Linked DNA regions of Homo sapiens: all the other regions are linked to region 1. The links are contacts of gene promoters, found by promoter capture Hi-C in blood cells and fetal thymus (Javierre and others, 2016). All regions are on one chromosome and are shown on one strand. Each heading gives the region's core, a stretch centred on a gene start or on the middle of the fragment in contact. The rest is flanking DNA. Distances are from core to core; before and after follow the strand shown. Region 1 overlaps LOC105373760 (a long non-coding RNA gene). Region 2 holds the start of HOXD11 (homeobox D11). Region 3 holds the start of EVX2 (even-skipped homeobox 2).

What was found. The method cuts DNA at HindIII sites, captures the fragments that hold promoters and counts their contacts. A CHiCAGO score of 5 or more calls a contact.
Region 2: the fragment with the promoter of HOXD11 here is called in contact with a fragment that was not itself captured in region 1 in 8 of 17 cell types (total CD8 T cells, naive CD4 T cells, endothelial precursors and 5 more); the score reaches 9.0 in total CD8 T cells.
Region 3: a contact is called between the fragment with the promoter of EVX2 here and a fragment that was not itself captured in region 1, in 1 of 17 cell types (naive CD4 T cells). The highest score is 5.1, in naive CD4 T cells.

Annotation. Positions count from the first base shown.
Region 1 is chr2:177,134,791-177,138,595 of GRCh38, forward strand. The region is part of intron 1 of LOC105373760 (a long non-coding RNA gene); the gene reads right to left. Among named protein-coding and RNA genes, the nearest start is that of MIR4444-1, 76 kb to the right of the region's middle. The HindIII fragment of the contact is 619 bases long and covers 1,630-2,248 here.
Region 2 is chr2:176,105,085-176,108,863 of GRCh38, forward strand. It overlaps HOXD11 (homeobox D11), which reads left to right and starts at 2,196. Exons shown (of 2, transcript NM_021192.3): 1 at 2,196-3,052. The coding sequence starts at 2,272. RefSeq lists an enhancer at 1-52. The HindIII fragment of the contact is 7,005 bases long and covers 1-3,779 here.
Region 3 is chr2:176,081,982-176,085,858 of GRCh38, forward strand. EVX2 (even-skipped homeobox 2) reads right to left here and starts at 1,981. Exons shown (of 3, transcript NM_001080458.2): 1 at 1,369-1,981; 2 at 197-468. The coding sequence starts at 1,795. RefSeq lists enhancers at 740-1,355, 3,806-3,877. The HindIII fragment of the contact is 15,744 bases long and covers 1-3,877 here.

The sequences.
Region 1 (3,805 bases), core at 689-3,188:
AGAAGGCAACCCAGTCTATTATCTGCCAGTTAAGTGTGAAAAAGGAGGAAATAGGCCAGCCATGGTGGCTATTGGGAGGCCAAGGTAGGTGGATCATTTGAGGTCAGGAGTTCAAGACCAGCCTGACCAACATGTTGAAACTGCGTCTCTACTAAAAACACCAAAAAAAAAAAAAAAAATAGCTGGGCTTGGTGGCGGGTGCCTGTAATCCCAGCTACTCAGGAGGCTGAGGCAGGAGAATCGCTTGAACCTGGGAGGCGGAGGTTGAAGTGAGCCAAGATCGCACCACTGCATTCCAGCCTGGGTAACAGAGTGAAACTCCATTTCAAAAAAAAAAAAAAAGAAAAAGAAAAAGGAGAAAATGAAGAGGAGAGGAGAAGAAAAACAAGTCCATCCAAATATGCAATCTTTGAGAGTCCAATTTAGTGTAAGAATCAAACCAAAAATATCTGGTAAAAGTAATGACATATTATTTAAGATAACACTGGCTGCTCTAACCAAAAACTCTGAAACTCTCAGTGTCTCAACACAATAGAAGTTTATTTCTCACTCATGTAAAACCAAAACACCAACCTCCTTCCTTCTTGAGGTCCCTCCATATTCTACACACAAGAACAGAACATAGAGGACCATGCATGGGAGGTTTTTATAGGCCAGACCTGGAAGCAACAACACATCACTTCTGCCCACATGCCAGTGGCTAGAACTTGGTCAGATGAGTCCAGGCACAGTGGCTCAAGCCTGTAATCCTAGCCCTTTGGGAGGAGTTTGAGACCAGCCTGGCCAACATAGTGAAACCCTGTCTCTACTAAAAATACAAAAATTAGCCAGGCATGGTGGCACATGCTACTCAGGAGGCTAAGGCAGGAAAATCACTTGAACCCAGGAGGCAGAGGTTGTGGTGAGCCGAGATCGCACCACTGCACTCCAGCCTGGGCAACAGAGCAAGACTCTGTCTCAAAAGAAAAAAAGAACTTGGTCAAATGGCCAGTCCTAACTATGAGGGAGACTGGTGGTATAATCTAAAGGTATGTACCCAGGAAAAGGGGAAAACAGGTGAACATTTAATACCCAACCACAAATTATCAGTTGTGTCTTTCAAACATTTCTTTATAATTTCAATTTTCTAAACAAGGATCTAGCAAACTACGGCCTGCAGGCCAGATTTACCTTACCACCTGTTTTCATACTGCCCACAAAATAAGAAATGTTTTGGTATTTTTTAATAGTTAAAAAAATCAAAAGAAGAATAATGATTTGTGACACATATGAAATTCAAATTTCAGTCTCCATAAATAAAATGTTCTTGAAACACAGCCACGTTCATTCATTTACATATTGTCTATGGCTGCTTTTGTACTAAACAACAACAGAGTCAAATAGTTGCAACAGAGGACATATGAATGGGAAAGCCAAAAGTATTTACTACCTGGCCCTTTGCAGAAAAGGTTTGCTCACCTCTGTTTCAAACTGATAAGAGTTTTTAAGAATCGAGCAACAGGTACTTCTAGGCAGTGACCTGAAACACAAATATGCCTGATTGGTAGTTAAAGTATATTCATAGGCATCAGTGATTAAATGAGCTGATACAAAATTGATATCTTTTGGGAACACTGAGGGGTCTGAACAAGCTTCTGGCCATTCCTCTATATGTAGAGTTAGATCAAGAAGAACTTGCAGGCAAAGCTAGAATTTTTCATAAGAAACATTTCTGGATCTATACCAGTTTAAAAACCCATGATTAATCAGTTAGTCATTTTTACATAAGCAAGTAAAGACACACTGTTTTCCAAATTTCTCAAATAAATAAGCATCTCTTCAATAGAACTGTTAGATACTATACTAGCATGGCTTGTTTTTAATAAATAATGTATCACGCTGTTATAGAAAGAATATGATTTTCTGGGGATTGTAAATACTTTAATTCCAATGGTGAAAAGGTAAAGGATAAAGTTGCCTAACAATCATACTTCATGAAATCAAATTTCAAAGTTTATTTATAGATAGTTTCCTGATGATTATGTTAGCATAACTTTATTGTTTCTTGATTACTTAAAAATCAGATCAAGAACAAAAGTAACTCCTTTTTATCAGAATGCCTATCAACCTCAAATACTGACTGATAGCATTCCTTTCTATTAAAGTTTCAAAAGATAAGTAGGTTCACAGGGAATATGTGCTGCTAGTACACACAGATGAACAGTTTTAGAATTTAAGAAGGAATAAAATGTACCAACATATCAAAATAAGCTTTAAAAAAAAATCTTGGCATTAATGTCAATAGGCACTCCCTGGGGAACTCCAGGGACATAAAGCATAAGCTTCAGGACAAAATTTTGCTTGTAGCCACTGTACCTGCAGTCATCCAGAACAAACAAAACCTTCAGCCCTGCAGAGCCAGGCTACCCGAGACCAGAATGCCCCAAATTTGGGAATGACCTCAAAATCACTGTTTCAGAGTTCAATATCAAGCTCCTTGTTTTATATAACATGCAAGTGAGCACAGATTGAGTAAGGAACTTGCCCAGGCCACACAGCCAGCAGTCAGCAGCACTGGCATTAGGACTCCAGCCAGCCCCTTTCCCCATCTTCTGGGTTCTTCCTCTAGGGGTGTCCAATCTTTTGGCTTCCCTGGGCCACATTAGAAGAAGAAGAATTGTCTTGGGCCACACATAAAATACCCTAATACTAACTATAGCTGATGAGCTAATATATATAATATAACATATATATATAACATATAACATAATGTTATATATAACATATATATAACATATAACATATAATATATATATAATATATATAATATATAATATAACATATATATTTGCTCATCAGCTAATATATATGGCCTAGTCCCATAATGAAATACTATATAATATATATATATTATATATATCATAATGTTTACACACCTGTGTTGGGTCACATTCAAAGCCATCCTGGCCGCATGCAGCCCACGGGCCGTGGGTCGGATAACTTTTCAAGTCTACACCATAATTCATCCTCCCGCAGCTGGCTCTCTGGAGCCATCAGTTCATTGACTCAAGCAAGGTTAATGTATCCTCCTTCTAAGACAGATTAAATTCAAGTCCAAAACCACTTAATGCATGAACGTCATCCCAATGAGACCTATAAAGCAGAGGCCCTGTCAGCTTTGTAGGGCCCCAAACATCCCACAATGCCTTTTTGCCAGACCTGAATTGGCAAAACTCTTTGGCCAAAGGCTCAGATGTCTTTCACCCTTCTCTTCAGACTGCATTGGTAAACCACGCTTCTTTTCTTTCCTCCTTGCCTCCTACCTATTTCCTCTGTAGCATCTGCTTTGTAGATCATTCTTCTGTGGTGTGTGAGGACAAACGACACCAACAATCACACCACCACTCAATTGCTGAAGAGTGTAATTCCTGAACAACCAGATGCACCACTTTTACTTTAATACTTCGAATTACTATGTGGAAATCCAGGATGCGTTTGTAGATTTATTTCTACTAACACAACAATTTTTACAAGTAACTAAAACTATGATAAAATTTTATCAGTTTCTGGATTTCATTCCAAGATGTCAAGACATGGGCCACATCCTCTTTAGCAGATTGTCTGGAGGAAAACCCTCCCATCAACCAAACTTAATTAATATTATTTCATGTTACTTGATAGAAATAAATAGTAATCTCCAATTTTTCTTAGCTTTTGAATAGGATATCTGAATTAACAGCATTGATTTATTTAAAATAAAAATAATGATCTCTCTTTACTCTCTAGCTCCCAATCGCAAAATCCCACAATCTCCAATTAACAGTGA
Region 2 (3,779 bases), core at 946-3,445, 1.0 Mb before region 1:
GTCCTGAGCTACCGCAGGGCCAGTGTGCAGCGTCCAGGGAGCCATTTTAGGAGAGAGATCCAGGGGCGTCGACCACGAGCCCGAAAGGGAGAGGCTTGGGCCTGGGATGGAGATGGGGAGGCAGATAAGTGTGCTGGGGGTCTGGGTTGAGGAGAAGAATGTCAGCTGGAATCTGGGCGGGGGTGCCAGCTGCGGGGAGGGAGCACACAAGATGGGCAGTTCTAGTTGGGGGAGGCTCGATGCCCTCCAGTCGCCACAGACCTATTTGCGCAGTGTTGGGGGAGGGAAGAAGACATGGGAAGGGGCGGAGGAAGGAGAGAGGAAGGGAGAAAGGGAGGGAGGAGAAAAAGAGGAAGGGGGGGTACATCAGCCAGAAAATAGATATTAGCTCAGACCACCCGCCTTTTCTCTGTCTGTCCGCACGGTGGGCAGAGCGCACAGCACCGGCACTGCAGCAGCCCGGGCCAGGGAGGGAACCAGCATCACAGCCAGCGCCGCCTGCCCTGGGTATAGGACTGAGGCCCAGGCCCCAGCGCTGGGATTGCCTGGGCGGAGGAATCTTGGGGAAAGGGGCAGCCTCCTGCCCTCGGTTCTGGGATTTGGGTTTGGGAAGAGACGGTTTACCTTTGAAAAGCGTCTGCTCACTCGGAGGTGGGATCCCAGGCCTTGCCTGGACCCATGGGCTAGGAGAGGGTCGCGGCAGGCTGGGAGGAGAGTGAGGCCTTGGGGGAGTGGATGGGGTGCCCCACGAAGAGTCTGCCTCAGAGCCAGGTGACACAGAGGGGCTCCAGGAGGGAGTCAGGCTCCGCTGAGAGCCCTTAGAGAGACAACCTATCTTGGGGGAGGGGCTGAAGTGACCATGCAGACCCAAGGGTACCAGAAGAGCCTCGGGGAAACGCGGCGTGGATTCGCAGGCCTTGGCGGGGCTCCGAAGCAGTGAAGGGTCTAGGTATAAGGCGGACACCCAGGCTAGGCCTGAAAGCAGAGGGGTGAGGAGGACGAAGGTGCGAGTGTGTGGGGGTTGTCTCTTGTGGGGAGCCAGCGGGAAGCCAAGCACCCTAAGAGTAGGACTCCAGATCCTTTTGTTCACCAGACTCCCCAGATTCTAGGGAGGCTGGGGACCACGGGCTGAGCCCCCTCCTGGCTTCAGTGCTGAAGGAGAAGGCAGAGAGGCAACGGGGAGAGAGACAGAGACAGTGACACACAGCTTAGAGGAAAGGAGGGGAGAGGATGAGAGGACAGAGAGAGAGAGGAGAAGGGAGACAGGAAAGCAAGAGGAAGGAAGAAGGAAAGCGGAAAAGAAGAGGAAGGAGAGAAGTGAAGACAGGAGAGAGAAGGGAGAAGACTGAAGAGAAACGAGGCAAGGAGAAAGAGAGACAAGAACAGAGAGGGAAACCAGAGAGAAGGGAAGAGAGCCGGGTGGGCACGAAGGCCCCGGCCTGGGTGAGTGCCTAGGTGGTGAATGGCCTGGGTTTTTCCGAGGCCAGCACTCGCACCCTTGGGGTCAGAACCGGAAAGAGCCAAGTCACTCCACTCTGAACGCGCTGGGCAGAAAAATATGTAAATCAGGGCTCCCTGCGCCCTGGAGAGTGGCGAAATTACTCCCGCCCGGTGAACAAGAAGCAACAAGCTCCCAGGCGGGTGAGCTGCAGAGGGTGGCAGAGTCGCGGGGGAGGGAGCGGCTGCAGTAAGGGGGGTGGGGTTCGGAACCTCACACCCTCACACCTAGTTCCTAGCTTCTAGGGAGCCTGGAGCCGGGGCTTCCCCCCCTCTGCTCGCTGCTTCTCTCCCTTCCCCCTTCCTCCCCCTCTTCCCCCTCCTTCCTCCTCCCCGCCGGCCTCGGTCCGCGTACTTAAAGCGGCGCGGGAGGGCGGACGCGGGCGGGCGGCCCGTTCGGGCGGTGGCAGATGCGCCCAGCGGTGACAGCGGCCAGCGGCGCGCAGGTGACCGGCCTGAGGCGCAGCCTGGTCAGGGAGCGCCCGGGGAGAGCTGGCGGCAGAGGGCAGCCGATCCGCCCCCAGCGCGCGCGTCTCGGCGCCAGGAGCCGTCCCGGGGCGTGTTGGCGAGCGTTGATATAGATATAAGGACATTTCTCTTCATGGCGTCACGTGACATAATTACCACCAGAATCAATCAAGATGAATTGCACGTCAGCGCCCGGTGGGGATTTTTGCTTAGTTGATCCTGGCCCAAGCCTCTTGTGCAATCGATGGCTCAGGTTGGCTGCGCGGGGAGCGGCCAGAGGCTCGCTGGCGCGCACGCCGCGGAGTCATGAACGACTTTGACGAGTGCGGCCAGAGCGCAGCCAGCATGTACCTGCCGGGCTGCGCCTACTATGTGGCCCCGTCTGACTTCGCTAGCAAGCCTTCGTTCCTTTCCCAACCGTCGTCCTGCCAGATGACTTTCCCCTACTCTTCCAACCTGGCTCCGCACGTCCAGCCCGTGCGCGAAGTGGCCTTCCGCGACTACGGCCTGGAGCGCGCCAAGTGGCCGTACCGCGGCGGCGGCGGCGGCGGCAGCGCGGGGGGCGGCAGCAGCGGGGGCGGCCCCGGCGGGGGCGGCGGCGGCGCGGGGGGCTACGCTCCCTACTACGCGGCGGCGGCGGCGGCGGCTGCGGCGGCCGCGGCGGCCGAGGAGGCGGCCATGCAACGCGAGCTTCTCCCGCCCGCGGGCCGCCGGCCGGACGTGCTCTTCAAGGCGCCTGAGCCGGTGTGCGCTGCGCCGGGGCCGCCGCACGGCCCCGCGGGCGCCGCCTCCAACTTCTACAGCGCGGTGGGCCGCAATGGCATCTTGCCACAGGGCTTCGACCAGTTCTACGAGGCAGCGCCCGGGCCCCCGTTCGCCGGGCCGCAGCCCCCGCCGCCACCCGCGCCGCCACAGCCCGAGGGCGCAGCCGACAAGGGCGACCCCAGGACCGGGGCTGGTGGCGGCGGGGGCAGTCCCTGCACCAAGGCGACCCCTGGCTCGGAGCCCAAGGGGGCAGCAGAAGGCAGCGGTGGCGACGGCGAGGGCCCCCCGGGAGAGGCGGGGGCCGAGAAGAGCAGCAGCGCAGGTAGGCACCGGGTACTGGGCAAGCGGTGGGCCCGGGGGCCGCGGGGGAGGGGGGGGGGGCGGAGGCCTCCCTCTGCTTGCGCCTTTTTATGTGCTACTTTATAAGCATTCGAAGAGGTTTATACATCCTATAAGATTTCCTGGGCCGTTGTAAAGTGTGTTTATGGTAGGAAACCAATTTAGGTGGGCTTAAGGTAGACTTCGAGGAGGACATTAATAGCTGTCGAGAGCCTTTTCCCAGTTTTGGGCAGGGGGTTGCTAGATACCATGGAGGGAGGGAGGGAGGGAGATTTCAAGCCAGTGTGAGTGCATACACCGGAGCCTCCTGCTTTTAAGGGAGAGAGGCGGGGGGTGGGGAAGTGGGGGGAGTTTGATCCTTGCACTGGACTTTATCCAAGCCGCTAGCTGACGCGCGCCGCTGGAGTCAAGCAGATGCCCCGGCGGGCCTGCTCTTGTCTCTGTTCCCTCAGGTTCCAGTTTAGAGCCTGCCTTGCCCTCTGCTTCCCCACCTCCGTGCCAGGCTCTGTGTGTGTGTGTGTGTGTGTGTGTGTGTGTGTGTGTGTCCGGGCGTGAACACATGTCCACGCCCGCACTCTCTCCTGTGCCCGCCCATATATCATCCCCCACGACGCAGGCAGGGCCTTTCGGCCGCGGCAGAGAACGTCCCCAACGGGGCCAGGGCCTGGCCCTCGCTCAGTGGCCCGGGCGGGCGGGCGGGTGGGGGCTGT
Region 3 (3,877 bases), core at 731-3,230, 1.1 Mb before region 1:
TAGATCCGTCAGGCCGGACAACCGTTCGGATTCGGTGGCCGGGAAATAAATAAGCCAATTCCTTTGGTGACTACCCCCCGCGGATTTCCAGACCCTTAGCTAAATCTAGCCACCCAGAAAGGGGAAAGGGGAAAAAGAAACAATCAACCCAGATGCCCCCGGGGAGGCCAGAGCAGGCATGCACTGGAATTGATACCTTGATGGTGGTTTCGGGCAGGTTGAGTGCCGCGGCCAGCTCGCACCGGCGGGGCCGCGACACATAGTTCTCCCGGTAGAACTCCTTCTCCAGGCGCGCGATCTGCTCGCGGGTGAACGCCGTACGGTAGCGCCGCACTTGATCCGCGCCAGAGCCGGAGCCACCCAGCGCCGCGCTCCCGCCGCTGCCTCCGCTGCCTCCATGCAGGCTTCCGAGGCCTGAGCCCGACGCCGACGTCGTGGTGCCGGCAGCCGAGCCGCTCTCTGCGTACCCTGGCAAACAAACGACCAACAGCGCATGAGTGGCTGTAGGACCAACAGCCCGGCGCTGGCGCTGCGCGCGGATCGGGGAAGCCCCGTCAGGAAGGAGAGTCGCTGCCGGAATTGATGGGGTCTGTCATGCTTACAAATTGCTGCCGTTAATGGAATCAATAAAGTTTGGGGAGCCCTTCATAAGCAAATAATAGAAACGGAATTAGGAGATTTCTTTTTTAATAATTAGAAATTTTCAACCAAGGAGGAAAAGTGGCCGAGGGAAAATGCCTACCTCTGGGCGCAGTTTGGGAAGCTCTGGGTTTCCCATGGTCTGGAGACCGCAGGGCAGCTTTTTATACGGCCTCTAACCTTTATCTGAGTCTTCGGGGTTTCAAATATTTTAAGAGTTCCAACACAGCAGTAGCTCAAACCCAAGCCAATAGGGGGTGAAATATACTTTTCAACTCTTTCTCCCGCTGACCTAAACAGAGACGCCGGCGAGGCTTCCTCCGACTTACCCAGAAGAATGCCCCCTCCAGCCCTGAGGGCACAGGGGCAGGGGAGTTCAGAGTAGTTGCCCAGGGTACCTTTCCCAAAAGCAACTCGGCTGCTGACTAGGGGTCTACCGGCTCGCTCGGGCTCTTAGACACGAGCGCAGAAACATTTTCTCGGACTCAGGAGCGAGGGCGGGTGGGCCTGGTGTTCCAGGCTCCGCAGGCCTGAGCCTGGCGGGAAAGCTCAAGGAGCAGAACTGGAAGGCACGGTCCCAGACATGCGTCCCGCCCCCGCCCGTGCTAGCTCGGTGTAGCTTGCCTGTGGAGGGTCTGAGAGGGGAAAAGGCACCGGGAAAGGCTGGCGGGGGCCGCGGAGGAGCAAAGAGGATGGGACTGGAGAGCGCGGTGCGGCCGGCGCGGTTACCTTTGCCATTGTTTTCCTTAAGCTGAGCGGCGCCGAGGCCCCCGGGGGAGCGAAGCGCGGAGCAGCCCACCTCCACGTCGCTGCTCATGTCGGCCTCAGCGGCCGCCTCTGAATAATGGCCCGGCTTCTTGCGGCTCTCGGCGGCGGAGGAGATTTCGGAGGAGACGGTGCTTTCGCTGCCCGTGTGCTGCAGGTTGAACAAAGTGTCTATTTCGAATTTGCCCTTGGCGGGGAGTTCTCCCAGAGCGCTGTGCAGGGGGGCAGACGGCAGGCGCGGGCTTAGGCGAGCCGGGTGCTGCGAATTTTCCAGGGCCTCGAGCACAGCATTGCCAGCCGAGTTGGACAAATTGGAGAATCTCTTGCCCGCCGTAGGGCTGTGCAGCCCTCTCTCCATCAGAATCATCTCTTTTCTTATTCTTTCCATCATCTCAGCTTTCTTAAAAATGTCACAGTGGCCCTGCTGTCCCGTCCTAATGATAGGCTGCGCCTAGGGCTAATTCTCATTCAGCCCCAGCGAACGCCTCTAAATATTATTATCGCTTTCGGAGGGAGGCGGAAAAATTGTGGGATGCCAGAGCGAGGGAATGACTGGTCAAAATGACCCATACATCCTTCCGATCCCGAGATGTCATTCATCAAAAAGTAGCGCCCGCTCGTCATTAAGGTACGAATGACGCTGTTCGAATAATCATTTATTGTAACAGGTTTATAAGCAAATAAATACACCCTCCTGTCAGTGGGTAATGAAGGCAGCTTCAGAGCAGACAAATAGATCCAGGTAGGAGGCGAGAAGAGACAAGTGAGGAGGAAGGCTCCGGTCCTTTGCCCGCTCCGAGCCAGTTCTGCTCGCCCGGGGGTTTGGCCTCGGGGGTGAAATTGACAGTCTGATTAATAGAGCGCGCCGCGGCACATTTCCCCCTTCATTTAGGGGCATCATTACGCTCTCAGTTTGCTAGGTTGCCCCTTAGGTCCTAATCATGCAGCGCCTTCTTCATTTTTCCTTGGACACAGATACGTATTAAATAATAGATAATGGTTTGACTTTCCAGAGTAGGTCCTCGGGAAGGTTTGGTTTTTTTTTTTTTTTTTTTTTTTTTTTTTACCATTTACAAGCTGGGGGCATAAGTGGGGGGAGATAAGGGGGAGGATGCAGGAAGAGTTGCGTAAGGAGAAGACCTTGCGCCTCTCCTATCTGGATTACTTATCTTTCGGATTTCGGAACCAAATATGTATTTTATTTAACAAATAGGACGCCGGAGTTCTTTCCCTCCCTATTTCTTCACCTCAGCCTAAATGCTCTCCTCCCACCCCGGGAGAGAGAGAGAGCGGAAGAGAGGGAGAGAGGGAGAGAGGGAGAAAGGGAGAGGGAGACGGAGTGAGAGAAAGAGAGAGAGAGAGAGAGAGAGAAATAGAAATATCCTAGAGTTTTGAAAGCGCTTTCTTGCTACGTGGCCGCGGAGGTGCATTGGGCCCGCGCCTCCAAACGGAAATCATTAGGTCCTCTCTGATTTTCTAACACCGTCTGCAGAGTGAGATCTGAACTCGAAGTCCCCGGTTTTTTACTTTTATAATCCTGCTGATAGAAAGCCTTCTCGCCTACGCATTTTCCTGAGGGGAAACGAACTAGGCTGGACGATTTGATAGCAGAATTCGACAGCTAACTTTAAACACAGTGGAGATTTACAGCGCCATACGGGCGCTCCGAATCCACGCTCACGTTGCCAGATTTTCCCCTCCCTCCTCAAATAGAATTATTTGCGGCAAAGGCGCTGGATTTCGAGGTCAAAAGAGGAAAGAGGAGACAGCCTTCTTCCCCTACCTCCCCGCTGCCCTCCCTTCCCCTTTGCTTTTCTTCCTTCTCTCTTTCCTCCCCTCATCAACCCCAGCCCCTTACCTGCGGCCACAGGTATTCCCAGCGTTGGGTCCGGGCGCAGAGAGTCGCCGAACAGCCTTACAGCAGCTCTCTGCGGCCTGGGCTTGGAGGCTGAGCCTCTTGGCGACAACTTTGATAGTCATAATGACGCCGGTGGCAACCATTTTAACGAAGATCAATCTTCACTCCAGGCCGCTCCTCATCTCCCGCGGTTGCGCCCACCCTTCCCTGACCCTCCAAGCACTGTGCCCACCCGCCAACGGCCCAGCCGGAGAGAGATTCGCGGACACAGGCGGAGGCGAGGGAGGACGGGGATGGGACGCGGAGGTCCGCCCGTGAGCTTCTGAAGCGGCTGAGAGACCCTGACAATCTGGGCGCTGGGCGCGGGTCCTGCATCCCCACATTTAGCCTCAATCCGAACCCCAACCAGGGCCCCCTCTTCTTTCTGCCGACACACCCAGAACATTGGGGTGTGTTAGGGGGCAAGCTCGAGATCTATTCGCCTATAGCTCTTGGCGCTTTCCTTTTAACCTTAGACCCGTTGGGGGCGCATCAGGAATGTAAGGGGAAGCGAGGTGTGAAGTATATTTATATACATATATACACACATATAGTCAATGCCAAAAGTTTATCTTC